Linked DNA regions of Homo sapiens: all the other regions are linked to region 2. Evidence: promoter capture Hi-C in human tissues and cell types (Jung and others, 2019). All regions are on one chromosome and are shown on one strand. Each heading gives the region's core, a stretch centred on a gene start or on the middle of the fragment in contact. The rest is flanking DNA. Distances are from core to core; before and after follow the strand shown.

The links. Contacts are between HindIII fragments. The study calls those that stand out against the background at their distance.
Region 1: a contact is called between a fragment that was not itself captured here and the fragment with the promoter of MRPL39 in region 2, in 1 of the 25 tissues and cell types used here (lymphoblastoid cells).
Region 3: a contact is called between a fragment that was not itself captured here and the fragment with the promoter of MRPL39 in region 2, in 1 of the 25 tissues and cell types used here (lymphoblastoid cells).

What each region holds. Positions count from the first base shown.
Region 1 is chr21:25,800,148-25,804,542 of GRCh38, forward strand. LOC105372757 (a long non-coding RNA gene) reads right to left here. Exons shown (of 3, transcript XR_937622.2): 2 at 1,367-1,475; 3 at 4-201. Among named protein-coding and RNA genes, the nearest start is that of GABPA, 67 kb to the left of the region's middle. The HindIII fragment of the contact is 6,202 bases long and covers 1-4,395 here.
Region 2 is chr21:25,605,208-25,609,276 of GRCh38, forward strand. MRPL39 (mitochondrial ribosomal protein L39) reads right to left here and starts at 2,274. Exons shown (of 10, transcript NM_017446.4): 1 at 2,196-2,274; 2 at 1,242-1,448. The coding sequence starts at 2,268. RefSeq lists an enhancer at 2,219-2,338 and a silencer at 3,319-3,378. The HindIII fragment of the contact is 22,766 bases long and covers 1-4,069 here.
Region 3 is chr21:25,853,533-25,858,163 of GRCh38, forward strand. No RefSeq gene overlaps it. Among named protein-coding and RNA genes, the nearest start is that of GABPA, 120 kb to the left of the region's middle. The HindIII fragment of the contact is 4,098 bases long and covers 25-4,122 here.

The sequences.
Region 1 (4,395 bases), core at 64-2,563, 190 kb after region 2:
GCTATAAAAAAGTAAGACTCACCTCTCTTCTTCCAGCAACCCCCAGGGAATAAGATTATCCATCCAGTAGAGAATAGAACTAGGAAAGATAAATCCCTCTTTGACTTCTGATATTCTATTTTTCTGATGTTTTCTGTACCTCCATTACTGGTTTGACATAATATTTGGCCTTTGAGTTTTTAACTTTTCCCAGTTGTCATTCTTGAGAAAGTGAAAAGATAATAAGTTTCAACATAAATTTGGAGTAAGCTCCAGTTTTCACACAAACACAAATCACAAGGCACTTACAATGTTTCACGAGCTACAAGTCTTTTAAAAATACCACCTATTAGCCATTGAACACAGGGCTGTTACAAACTTATTTATCAGAGGACATAGTTGCTATGCTCTCCATATAACAACAGTTTCAAAAACTTGCAGCCATTAAAACTACATTTTTTTGGCCGGGCGCGGTGGCTCATGCCTGTAATCCCAGCACTTTGGGAGGCCAAGGCAGGTGGATCACCTGAGATCAAGAGTTCGAGACCAGCCTGGCCAACATGGCGAAACCCCATCTCTACTAAAAGTACAAAATTAGCCCGGCGTGGTGGCACGTGCCTGTAGTCCCAGCTATTCAGGAGGCTGAGGCATGAGAATCGCTTGAACCCAGGAGGCAGAGGTTGCAGTGAGCTGAGATCACACCTCTGCACTCCAGCCTGGGTGACCAAGTGAGACTTCGTCTCAAAAAAACAAACAAACAAAAACCTTTTTTTCCTCTCAAATCTTTTGATCCTGAATTAATACAGAATCTTATTCAAGTGGATGCTAACTCCATTGTGTGGAACTTTTTTTCTTTTCTTTTTTTTTTTTTGGACAGAGTCCTGCTCTGTCGCCCAGGCTGGAATACAATGGTGGAATCTCTGCCTACTGCAACCTCTGCCTCCCGGGTTCAAGCAATTCTCCTGCCTCAGCCTCCCGAGTAGCTGGCATTACAGGCCCCCGCCACCACGTCCAGCTAATTTTGGCATTTTTAGTAGGGACGGGGTTTTGCCATGTTGGCCAGGCTGGTCTCGAACTCCTGACCTCAAGCGATCCCCCTGCTTCGGCATCCCAAAGTGCTGCGATTACAGGCGTGAGCTACCGAGCCCAGCCTCTTTGGGACATTTCTTCTTTTCTAAACATACAGCAGTGGTGGTGAAAATATAAAATGAAGATATAAAAAGGCATAGTGATGCTCAAAACCCAAATTAGGGTCTGTGTAGACTGGGAAGCAGCACTTGGACAGAGACAGATGAGTGAGCTGAAGATCCAGGACTGTGGTTGTGGGTCGGAGTTGGGCTCTGTCGGGATAAATCGCTCCGCAGAAGACGGGCTAGAGTCTGCTCACCATTGAAGGAAAGGCCAGTGCGGTTTTTCTGCCCCTGAAATGTTATTCAGAACTCCTGCTGCTGACACTTTACCACTCAGGTTTCTGCGACAGTTGGGTTTCTGTGGACCTGAAGAAGAGGGAGGACACAGACTCACAAGCCGGAACGGCATGCGACGAGCCCCCCAGAGGCCCATAACTGAACTGCAGTGTCTCCAGCCGCGCCCTGTGCAATGATTTGGTTCTGCATTGCGCCCCCTAGAGGTGAGTGGAAGCAATGTCCAAGCTGTGGGCAAGTAGGATTGAGTACCCGAAGGGAGTGAAAGCAAAAAGCAAAACGCAAAAACAGCCAAGGAGCCTGCAAACCAAATATTGAGAATGCATGAAGAAATGCAATGCCAAGAAAGAAAACTGCAAGATCATCATCAAGTAAATGTGGGTCAGATAAAAATAATAGGACAATCTGAAAGAAGACTTTCACATAAATATTTAAGGTACTTCAAGGGAAAATTAAGAGAAATATTCTAAAAAAAAAAAAGTAAAAGGTAGAGAAAAAAATGTAAGACAAAATAGGCATAAATAAACCAACTATGGGTAAACATGAAAAATAACTGATTAGAAATATGAAAAATAAAAATCATAAATATACCTTAAGAAATTGGATAAAGTATATTGGACATAATTGAAGGAGAAAATTAGTTGATGAAACCATTCATGCAGAAATAGTGGATAGATGGAAGGCTTTCCCCATGTATTCAAAAGAAGGTCCAGAAAAGAAAATGGAGGGAAGAGTAGAGAAATTATATTTAAACAGTGACTAGCTAAGGCTTTCTCAGAATCAAGTTCAAACACAAGTTTTTAAATTAGGAGAGGGCTGGGTACAGTGGCTCTCACCTGTAATCCTAGCACTTTAGGAGGCTGAGGCAGGAGGATTGCTTGAGCCCAGGAGTTCGAGGCTGCAGTGAGCCATAATCACATTACTGCAACACTACACTCCAGCATGGGCAACAGAGTGAGATTTTTGTCGCAAAAAAAAAAAGTAAAAGTTAAAACATAAAATAAATTTACTAGAAGGGTAGTTCAAGTACCAAGAATAATGAAAAATAAACCAAAATAAGACACATTATAGTAAAACTAGGAAAATTTAAGTTACTGGGAAAAAAGATTACCACATATTAATAACTGAAGTTATTATCAGCAAAGATAGATGCATAGAGTGAAATAGTATCTTAAATAACCTTAAAGGCCATAATTATTAGCCTAGTGTTTTATACCCAGAGAATGAGGGCTATACTAAGAGTTGGCCACAGATGTCTTCTTAATTAAAAACAATACTGGTTGGGCATGGTGGCTAATGCCTGTAATCCCAGTACTTTGGGAGGCCAAGGCAGGCAGATCACAAGATCCAGGGGTTCGAGACCAGCCTGACCAACATGGTGAAACTCTGTCTCTACTAAAAATACAAAAATTAGACGGGCGTGGTGGCACATGCCTGTAATCCCAGCTACTCAGGAGGCCAAGGCAGGAGAATCGCTTGAACCTGGGAGGCGGAGGTCGCAGTGAGCCAAGATGGCACCACTGCACTCCAGCCTGGGTGACAGAGCGAGACTCCATTTCAAAAAGAAAAATAAAAAATAAAATAAAAACAATACTAACAACAAAAAACTATTAAAGGATATACTTCAGCAGGAAAAAATCTGAACCCAAAGAAAAGGCATTGAGATACAAAAATACTGTAAATATGGAAACTGATAAAATATTTTGGTGAGAATAATATGGACTATGTAAATAAAATTATACCTCTAAGCAAGAAGAAAATGAAAGAGCAGAAAAGCAATAATGAAGCAAATAAAAAGTATGGTGATCAGGAAGATCAGGAAAAGAAAAAGCAAAGAATGAGAATAAGAAAATAGAAACAATTCCAGCTGTGTAAATAATCACTAACGGTAGACAGATTAAACTCACCTTTTAAAGAGACTGAAATGATCAGAATGGATAATAAAGCAAAATCTAGCTGCATGTTGCCTACAAGAGGCATAGGTTAGAATTTTAAAAATAAAGGGATGTATAGTTATGCAAAATGGGAACAGTGAGTGAGAAAAGGGTGCTAAATACCTCCTTGCACATTTTTTGCTGTGGCAAGTTTCTGTGAATATATAGTTATTTCAAAATAGTTATCAAAAAGGGGAGTGGATAAAAAGCTATAGCATTCAAGTATCAACCGAGATAAAGGGGCATAGCAATATTAATACCATACAAAATCGAATATAAGACAAAAAGAATTTAATAGGGATAAAAAGATCAGTCCATAATAATTGAAAGAACAATCCACTGAGAAAATATAATAATTGAGAACCTGAATATACCTATAATAAAACCCAGAACTGTATGAAACAAGTTCTTATGGAATTACCAGGAGAGAGAAAACCACATAGTAGTAAGATTCCAGTATATCACTATCAGAATCTGATAAATTGGACCAAAATTAGTAAGGATGAGATTTACAAAATACATTGGCTTTATCTGATAGATACCTAGAATTCTCTCTCTGGCAAGCAGACATACATTTTTAGAGAGTATTTACAAAAAGTGTACAGGGCATTTCAAAAATTAACCACACACTATATCACTAAAGAAGTTTCAGCAAATGTCAGGGATTGAATATGACATAGACAATGTGCTCGCCTCATCATTCAATTAAATGGTAAATCAACAAATCTGCTTTTTATTTTTTATTATTTTTAGAAATAGGGTATATCACTTTGTCACCTAGGCTGGAGTGCAGTGGTGCAATCATAGCTCACTGCAGCTATGATTGAACCTGGGCTTAAGCCATCCTCCTGCCTCAGCCTCTCTAGTAGCCAGGACTACAGGTACGTGCCACCATGCCTGACTAATTTAAAAAATATTTTGTAGAAATGGAGGTCTCGCTATGTTGCCCATGCTGGTCTTGAACTCCTGGGCTCGAGCAGTCTTCTGGTCCTGGCCTCCCAAAGTGCTGGGATTACCTGTGTGAGCTATCATGCCCGGCAAAGTCAGTTTTTAAAACT
Region 2 (4,069 bases), core at 1,024-3,523:
CTGTATCTGTTTTGGGGCTTCTTTAATTTAAATATTACCAGTTCTATCAAACGTACTATCAAAACATTTTGATCAAAAATAAAATATAGAAGTTCTTATTCCCTTCATTTCCACACAAAATCACACATGGGGCACAGTTGTCTCCTTTAAGATATACATAAATACTTTTACCCCAATCACATTCACCCCATGCACATTCCCACTCACACATTTACCACATGTACATCTAAATGTCAACAAAAATACAACACAGAGAGAGCCAAGTGGAAAGCAGATGATAGATTAAGTTAGGCTATACAATGAAGAGGGGAGAAAGAAAAAGGCGGCAAAAAAAAGCTGATCATCTGAGGCCATGGCAATCCCTTTACACCAAAATCCTTTCTTGAGACCTGCACGGTGACTCCTCCCACCACATCACAGCCCTAGCTAAAAGGAGCAAGCAAATTCCAGCTACTTGGGAGGCTGAAGCAGGAGGAGAGCTTGAGGTCAGAAGTTCAAGACCAGCCTGGGCACCACAGCCACCCTCTCTCTCAAAAATAAAAATAAATTAGCCAGGTGTGATGGTGGGCACCTGTAGTCCCAGCTACTTCGTAGGCTGAGGCTAGGAGTTTCAGTGAGCTATGATAGTACCACTACACTCCAGCCTGGGAGCAGGGCCAGACCCTCATCTCTAAAATTAAATTAAATTAAAGGAGAAAGCACACTAGTAACAATGCACTCAGGTCTGGTCACCTTCTGCCAGAAAATTATCTAGTACCATAAACAAAGCCAGATTCAAACAAGCGCCAGGCAGGACAATCTGTGCACTACAGTGCCAACCTTGCAATACTCAGAGTACCCTCCAGAACTACAGGGACAGTGAATAGACAATAAGGTGCCAGATAAAGAACCTCTGGGAAGTCCAGGGACTTCTGCGCCCACCACATCTGGCTAATTTATTTCTATTTTTATTTTTTGAGAGACAGGGTGGCTATGGTGCCCAGGCTGGTCTTGAACTTCTGGCCTCAAGCTATCCTCCTGCTTCAGCCTCCCAAGTAGCTGGGATTTGCTTGCTCTTTTTAGCTAGGTCTGTGATGTGGTGGGAGCAGTCACCATGCAGGTCTCAAGAAAGGATTTTGGTATAAAGGGATTGCCATGGCCACAGATGACCAGAAGTAATTACAGCATCCTGTCTCCTGCACCAGTGCTTCCACACAGCTTAAGTAAAAGGGTCAAAACTGTAACCTGATTCTGCTACTTACGCATGGCACAACTGTAGGGAGTTGAAATGTTTTTATTCATCACGAAGACAGTACCGGGGTCAGTTTTCCCAACATGCTTAACTTCTATCTTCTCAGTTCGGGGAGTTAATGATAACTGCCTGGCTTTCTCTTTATTAAAGAGATCATTCCGCATTTCTGTCAATTCTGTCGGTGACAGCTGAGAAGCTGACGATGTTGCTATAAATCCTGTGGAGAAGTTACAATAAATATGAAGACTGAAAAAATGATTAACGTACTGCCAAAAGTGCGCTCAGAGGTAAAATTAAACCAATTTGTAATATTAACAAACACCAGCGGAAGAAACAGAGCTGGCCCAGATACGTGCCTCTACTTTTAAATTTGGCTCTTTCACATCAGATCGCTATTTCCCACCAATTTCCTGTGTCGTGTTTCCAATCAGTGCTTTACAATAAGGGGCAAAAAGTAACCAGGAAACGGAGTCAAAACTGGACTAGAGTCATTGGGAAGGTGAACAAAGTGGTCGGTTTGACAGGGTCTGAAGAAAAACAAGAAAATTTCAGGAAACCAAAGGTCCCACACCGAAACTATCAATATCCAGAATGAGAAATGCTGAGTTTATATCCCAAAGGCCAAATCAGGGAACCTGCCAAGGCAAGTACGAGTATTCCTTGGGAAGACATGGACAGATGTGCACGGAACGTGCGCTGCTTCCCAGAGGCGGGCCCAAGCTCCTCCCGCGGCCTGGCTCCGACCCCTGGCCCCGACCCCTGCCCTTGCCCCTGCCCTCCGCCAGACCCTCGTTCCCATAAATTAGTCCTCCCAAGCTGTGCAAGAGCGACCGCCGCGGAGGGACTAAGAAACCCTCCTCCTTCCTCTGCCCCGCGGGACCTCCCCGGCCCCGCCTCAGACCCAATCTAGACAGACACCACTATCTAGGCCTCGCTCCCTGTCCCTACGGCCTCTGAAACTCACTCCATTTGATCCCGCCACCGGGTGCGACCAGCCAGAGCCGCAGCGCCCGGGAACCCATGGCCAGCGCCTCCATAGCAGCGGTGAGAACCGTCGCGCGCAAGTCCTTCTCCGCCCTCCTCCCCCGGAAACCGAACGCGCACTCGGAGTTCCGCAGGACAGGTCTGTTCCGGACCCAGCACTCAGACTGCTCGCCTCCACCGGGGGGCGTCAGGCCTCGCTGGGGATTCAGTGGCTGAGACCCCGAGACTCGGAGCCGGGGCGCGTTACCTGTGCTCGATACCTGGGCGCGGTCACCTACCCAGAGGTGCAGGGCCCCCAGGGCGGTCGGCCTGCCGCCCACCACGTAGGCTCTGCAGGGAAACAGAGTTCCACAGGCGTCGTTGCCCTCCGCCTTCAGCCCTCCGCGGGTTCGATCCCGGCCACCCAGGTGAAGCGCTTGCTTCCCTAAAAGAATATATGGTTTTCTTGGCGGGGGCGGGGGTGGGGGGGAATGGGGAAGGCGTCTTCTATTTTGTCAGCGATGACATCCTCTAGCGCGTGGCTTAACTTTCAATTGTGCCGGGTAGGTTCTTAGTTCGGCTGGAGTGGGTCTGCACCCCGGTTCTCCCCTTAGCTGTGGTAATAGAGGCCTCGGAACACGTCCCCTTGACTTTGGAGAGGACGTTGTAATTCCTAAGAGCTCTTTACAAATTTTCTAGTTTAGTTTATATAGTATAGGATGTATAGGAGAAGGCATCCCGGGGCAGAATTTTTGTCTCTAGTTCACTGATGTATCCCAAGCGCCCAGAACAGAGCACAGCGCAGTCAGCGCTCAACAGATGTTTCTTGAATGAATGAATGAATGAATGCCCTTGCAGGCAAACTTCAGCTCATTGTCTAATTTTTCTGTCCTACCAGGACGTGAGTGTTATTTGAAGTAAGCACTCTGTAGGTACAGGATGGAAATATTTTCATTTACAGTAGTTTAATTCTGTGGCTTTACTTAAGGGTGTCGAATTCAGCCTTTCCCCCACTCTGTCCTTTGCCTTGCAATTGGAATGCGCCGCCACCAGGTGGAAGTGCCGCCTAAGGTACAAATATGACCCTGCGCCACGATAGATCGACCGTCTCCTTGGCCCAAATGTTACACTCACAACCACTGCGCCAGGAAAGTGTAAGTATCTTCACTTTTTAAAATGGGAAATGTAAGTGACGGAGCTTGGATTTACATCCAGTCTACATTTTACCAGGCTACATTTCATTTAAGATCCTAATTCAAACCACGAAATGTACATATATACATATAGTGTTGGAGGGCGGGTGTATCTTTTGCTTCCTCAAATTTGCATACAGTTCCCATGAAAGCTGTCTGTTTCATCGGCCTTTTAGAGCCTGTACCCATTTAACCTTACCTAGAAACACTCTAGTGCCCTTAGAACATCTTAGAGCCACATTTAAGCAAAGCCTCTGAACATAAACTTAAGCAAGTTTGATCACAAACCCATTGGAGGCAGGTAATTGGAGTTCACCGGTATGAGAAATTAACCTAGTTGAAAGGTTGTCACTAGTGATAATGGCCAAAAAATACTATGTGCCAATCATAGGGCTTGGTTTATTAATTTTCACAACCTACCTGAGCAATTGGCATAATAATCTTCATATTCCAGGAAAAGAAATTCAGGTTTTAAGAGCTTGAGAGACATACCCGAGGTAAATCTTTGGCCAAGAATTCCCCCCAAATATTTTCTTACTCTGAATCTTCTTTATCTTGCCTTCTTTATCAACCAGCTCCCCAAATCTTAGTCTCACTCTGTCAATGTCTCTGCCAAATAAAAAGTATCAAGTCTGTAACAGTAAATATCTAAGATAAGCCTGGATCATTACTGTGCCAGAAA
Region 3 (4,631 bases), core at 824-3,323, 250 kb after region 2:
CATGAACTTTGGGGAACACATTCAGACCATAGAATAACATTTAGTGAAGTGTCAGGCACATAACAGATATTCTACAATGTCAGTTATATTAATATTAAACTGCTTGTTTTCATCATGTGCCATGTTTTTCTATTCTTTGTCTTGCTGTCTTTTGTTTTCCTTTGTGTAAAATGTTCTTGCTCTGCTTCACTATGGAACAGTGGTTGACAGCATGGGCTTTGGGTGAGATTAAAACAGGTTTGGATTCAGACACTTCCATGGATTAACTGTGCAACATTACAAAGAGTGCTCAAGAAGTGATTATTATTATCCTATGTACCCTTCAGGATTCAGCTCAGGGGAAATCATCTCTGTGCCAGTTATGAGGCTATTACCTTTTGGCATCAAATCTATCCTTCCATAGTTGGCATTTTGATGCTGGGGCCAGGATTCTGCAACCTGCATTTTTACTTTGCCTGCAGGCTCCGTGTTAGGCTCCCTCTACTTGGGAAGGAAGACAGAAGCAGCAGGGCTGAGGGAGGAAGAAGGGACTTCCACCTCCTGTTTGTGTCCTGTGTGCCTCCTGCCTGCTGCCTGTTCCTACTAGGCTGTTAGTTCTTGTTTTATCTTTTCAAAAGACAGAGATGAGGGTGAGGTCAATGAAGCATCTGCCTCAGGAACAAAATTTAAGGGAACACTAATACTAAGGAATCAGGATAAATTACTGTATATTCAAATATAATATTTTAAAAAATCAAAATTAAATGAAAAAAAACCCATAATGAACAAAATATCAAAATTTTAGTAGAGACCAGTGCCCGCTGAGCCACATTAGAGCCTGGGGCCACTGGTTTTAATAAAAACAAACTCATCAATAATATATTCAAAATCTACTTTGTTGCTAATTTCATTTTTAGTTGAGAGAATTACTGTGTTTGACAATTTCTCTTGTCCAAGAGATGATCTTTAATAATTTTTACTTAGCTTAAGCTGATACAGAGTGATAACAAATTAGCTTTTGGCATAAGTAAAATATTAAACTTAAAATAACACTGTGGGCTGGGAGTAGTGGGAGTAGTGGCTTATGCCTGTAATCCTAGCTCTTTGGGAGGCTGAGGCGGGTAGATCACTTGAGCCCAGGGGTTGAGGCCAGGCTGGGCAACATAGCCAAACCTTGTCTGTACAAAAAAATACCAAATTAGCTGGGTGTGGTGGCACATGTCTGTAGTCCCAGCGACTCAGGATGCTGAGGTGGGAGAATTGCTTGAGCTCAGGAGGCAGAGGTGGTTGTGAGCTGAAATTGTGTCACAGCACTCCAGCCCGGGCAACAGAGCAAGACTTCATCTCAGAAAAATGGAAAATAAAAATAACATTGTGAATTTTAATACACCTACTTTTCGGACTTTCAATATTTTTCTTTTTTCTTTTTCTTTTTTTTGAGATGGAGCCTCCCTTCATTGCCCAGGTTGGAGTGCAGTGGCATGATCTCAGCTTTGTAACCTCTGCCTCCTGGGTTCGAGCAATTCTTCCACCGCAGCCTCCTGAGTAGCTGAGACTACCAGTGCACGCCACCACGCCTGGCTCATTTTTGTATTTTTAGTGGAGACCACACTGTGTTTTACCACACTGGCCAGGCTGGTCTCGAACTCCTGACCTCAAGCGATCTGCCTGCCTCGGCCTCCCAAAGTGCTGGGATTACAGGTGTGAGTCACTGTGCCCGGCCAGTATTTTTCAATTACTTTAATGTTCTGGAAAAAAATTATCTTAAAAAATATACAAAATTCCCAGCCAGGTGTGGTGGCTCACGCCTGTAATCCCAGCATTTTGGGAGGCTGAGGTGGGCGGATCACAAGGTCAGGAGATCGAGACCATTATGGCTAACATGGTGAAACCCCGTCTCCACTATAAATACAAAAATTAGCCAGGCATGGTGGCGCGCGCCTGTAGTCCCAGCTACTCAGGAGGCTGAGGCAGAAAAATGGCGTGAACCTTGGAGGCGGAGGTTGCAGTGAGCAAAGATTGTGCCACTGCACTTCCAGCATGGGCAACAGAGCGAGACTCTGTCTCAAAAAAAAAAAAATATATATATATACATACACACACACACACACACACACACACACACAATTATGTATCTTTCTTTGCCTCAGCTCCCTGTGGTTCACCACAGCACTGCCTTTTCACTTATCTAGTTCTCAAGTTTATATGTAGGTAACTATTCTTTGATGCCCTTATAAGTTACACGACCCTGAGTGGTCAGCATCCCCCAACTTCTTAGAGGGACAAGTGGCGTGCAGCCACCCGAGATTGAGCAATAACAGGTCTCTTCTTTTTATGTGGCTCTTCCACCTACACGTGCCTACCTGCCAACTAAACTTGCACATGTACTGTAGTCTTCCTTATCCCCAAAATGCAGCTTGCAGATGGAACGAACAACTGCCAGTCCCCCTCATGACACCAACACGACAAAAAAGAGTCATCCCACTAATCCCTTTACTTGTGGATTTAGGACTTTCTGCCTCCACTATTGCACTTGGAACTGGAATAGCAGGCATCTCAACCTCTGTCACAACAGTCTGCAGCTTCTCTAATGACTCCTCTGCTAGCATTACAGATATATCACAAACTTACCCCAAAATCTTACTTCAGTCTAATCTCTCCCACTTCAGGTTCCTGTGCCACCCCTAATCCTGCTCAAAGCAGCCCTGAGAAACGTCGCCCATCACCCCTCCATACTGCCCCCAAAATTTTTACCCCAAGTTTTCATTACTCTTTCTCGTTTTATTTCTTCATTATTAACATAAAAAGGAACGTAAGGTCCTCTGAGCTGGCCACACCATGGTAAAGCCAAGGCATTCCCCGCCCCACCCTCCCCCCATGATAATGTACTTTGTGATATTCCCCCTCCTTGTGAATGTACTTTGTAACATTCCTCCCTGCTATTTTGACAATACATCCTCCCCGCCCTTGTGAAGGTACTTTGTAACGTCCTCCCTGCCCTTGAGAATGTACTTGTAACATCCATCCCCTGCCCGCAAAAATTGCTCCTGACTCCACCGCCTATCCCAAACCTGTAAGAACCAATGATAATCCCACCCTTCTCTGACTCCTTTCTCGGACTCAGCCCTGCACCCAAGTGAATAAACAGCCCTGTTGCTCACACTAAGCCTGCTCAGGTGGTCTCTTATACGGACACACGTAACAATATTAAGTTCTCTCTGTGATTTCTACCTCCTGAACAGATTCTGACAACCTCAAAGTGCAGAGTGGATTTCTTCCTGTTCTCTTTCCCTCTCTTGGGCACTTCCCCACATTTATACTTTGCTAATTTTCTGTATTCCAAGAAATATAGTCCTCCCTGCCCTGCACAGGCATTCATTTGTTCCTGTGCAAATTCAATCCATTCTTCAAGATCCATCTCATATGTCATGAAATCATTCTTTACCCTGCACCAAATGAAATGTTTCCTTATTTCATGGGACCATAGAGCTGTACTGGCATCCATACCATCTTACTGTACCTTGTTTTGTTGCTATTTGTGCATATATCCTATTCCGCCCCGTCCTCCCATCTGAGTTGTAACTTTGAAGATCAGGGACTGATCTTCTGGTCTTTCTCATCTTTGAACATTTCCTATTTGGTGAGGTCAGGAGCTTTGGAGCACTAGTCACAGAGAGAACTGGAGAAACAGCTGGGTCATGAAACACCGGGCTTCTGCACATTGGTGGGAAGCAACACCAGTAGGTGTTGAAGTTAGTTTTCTTTACATTCCCAGTGATCTCAAAGCTTGCTTCCTTTTTTGCCATTTCTGCCTTGATGCTCAGTTTTGGTCCTGAAAGGAACGATTAACTTTTCTTCTTTCCTTAGCCTGCTGAGCACAGGGTGGCATTTAAAACAGTTGAGAGCGCTCTCTCCCCTGAATTAGAAAGAGAGTGATTTCCAGGAAGCAGAAGTTCCCTTGGGATGTTTGCCAGTGGGAGTCAAACAGCCCTGTGTGAATGGCTTTGTGAGCCAAGACCTTCTCTTCACAGAAGTGATGTGATGCTGGCAGGACCCTTTAATGAAGGGACCATGGTAATTGAGATCAGTGGGGATATTCTGCTTACTTCTATAGCAATCAAAACACCTCCTACAAAATCAAAACATTAGGAACAGCCCATCCTCAGCCTCCCACTGGCCCCAACTTTGTTCTTTTAGAAAAGTCAAAGCCCACTGAGACTGGGGGGTAACTTTGTCAGAAGTTTGTTTATTTATATAGTTTAAAGACGATTATTTTCAAAGTGGAAGCCAACTGATTTCAGACTACAAAAAGAATTTTCCAAAAACAAAGCTACGAGGTCAAGTTTCAGCTTCATAGAAGGGATAATTTGGGCAAACTTCGCCAACCACAATAGAATATGACATATTAAATTACTGCTCTGGAAAAGGCATTTGCGTTTGTAGACCTCAGGAAACCCTGAATCTTGAGTGCAGTCTGAGCTGAGAGCTTTCCCTGAGAAGCTTGCATCTTTATAATACTGACTGCTGACCCACTTTAAGGTCTTTGTCCCCAAACCACAGAGAGAAGAAAACAAGATAATGCAGGTCCTACTAGAGACTCTTGTACCTTGGTGTATTTATGCACCCACTGGTGGGCATTGCATTTCCAAACT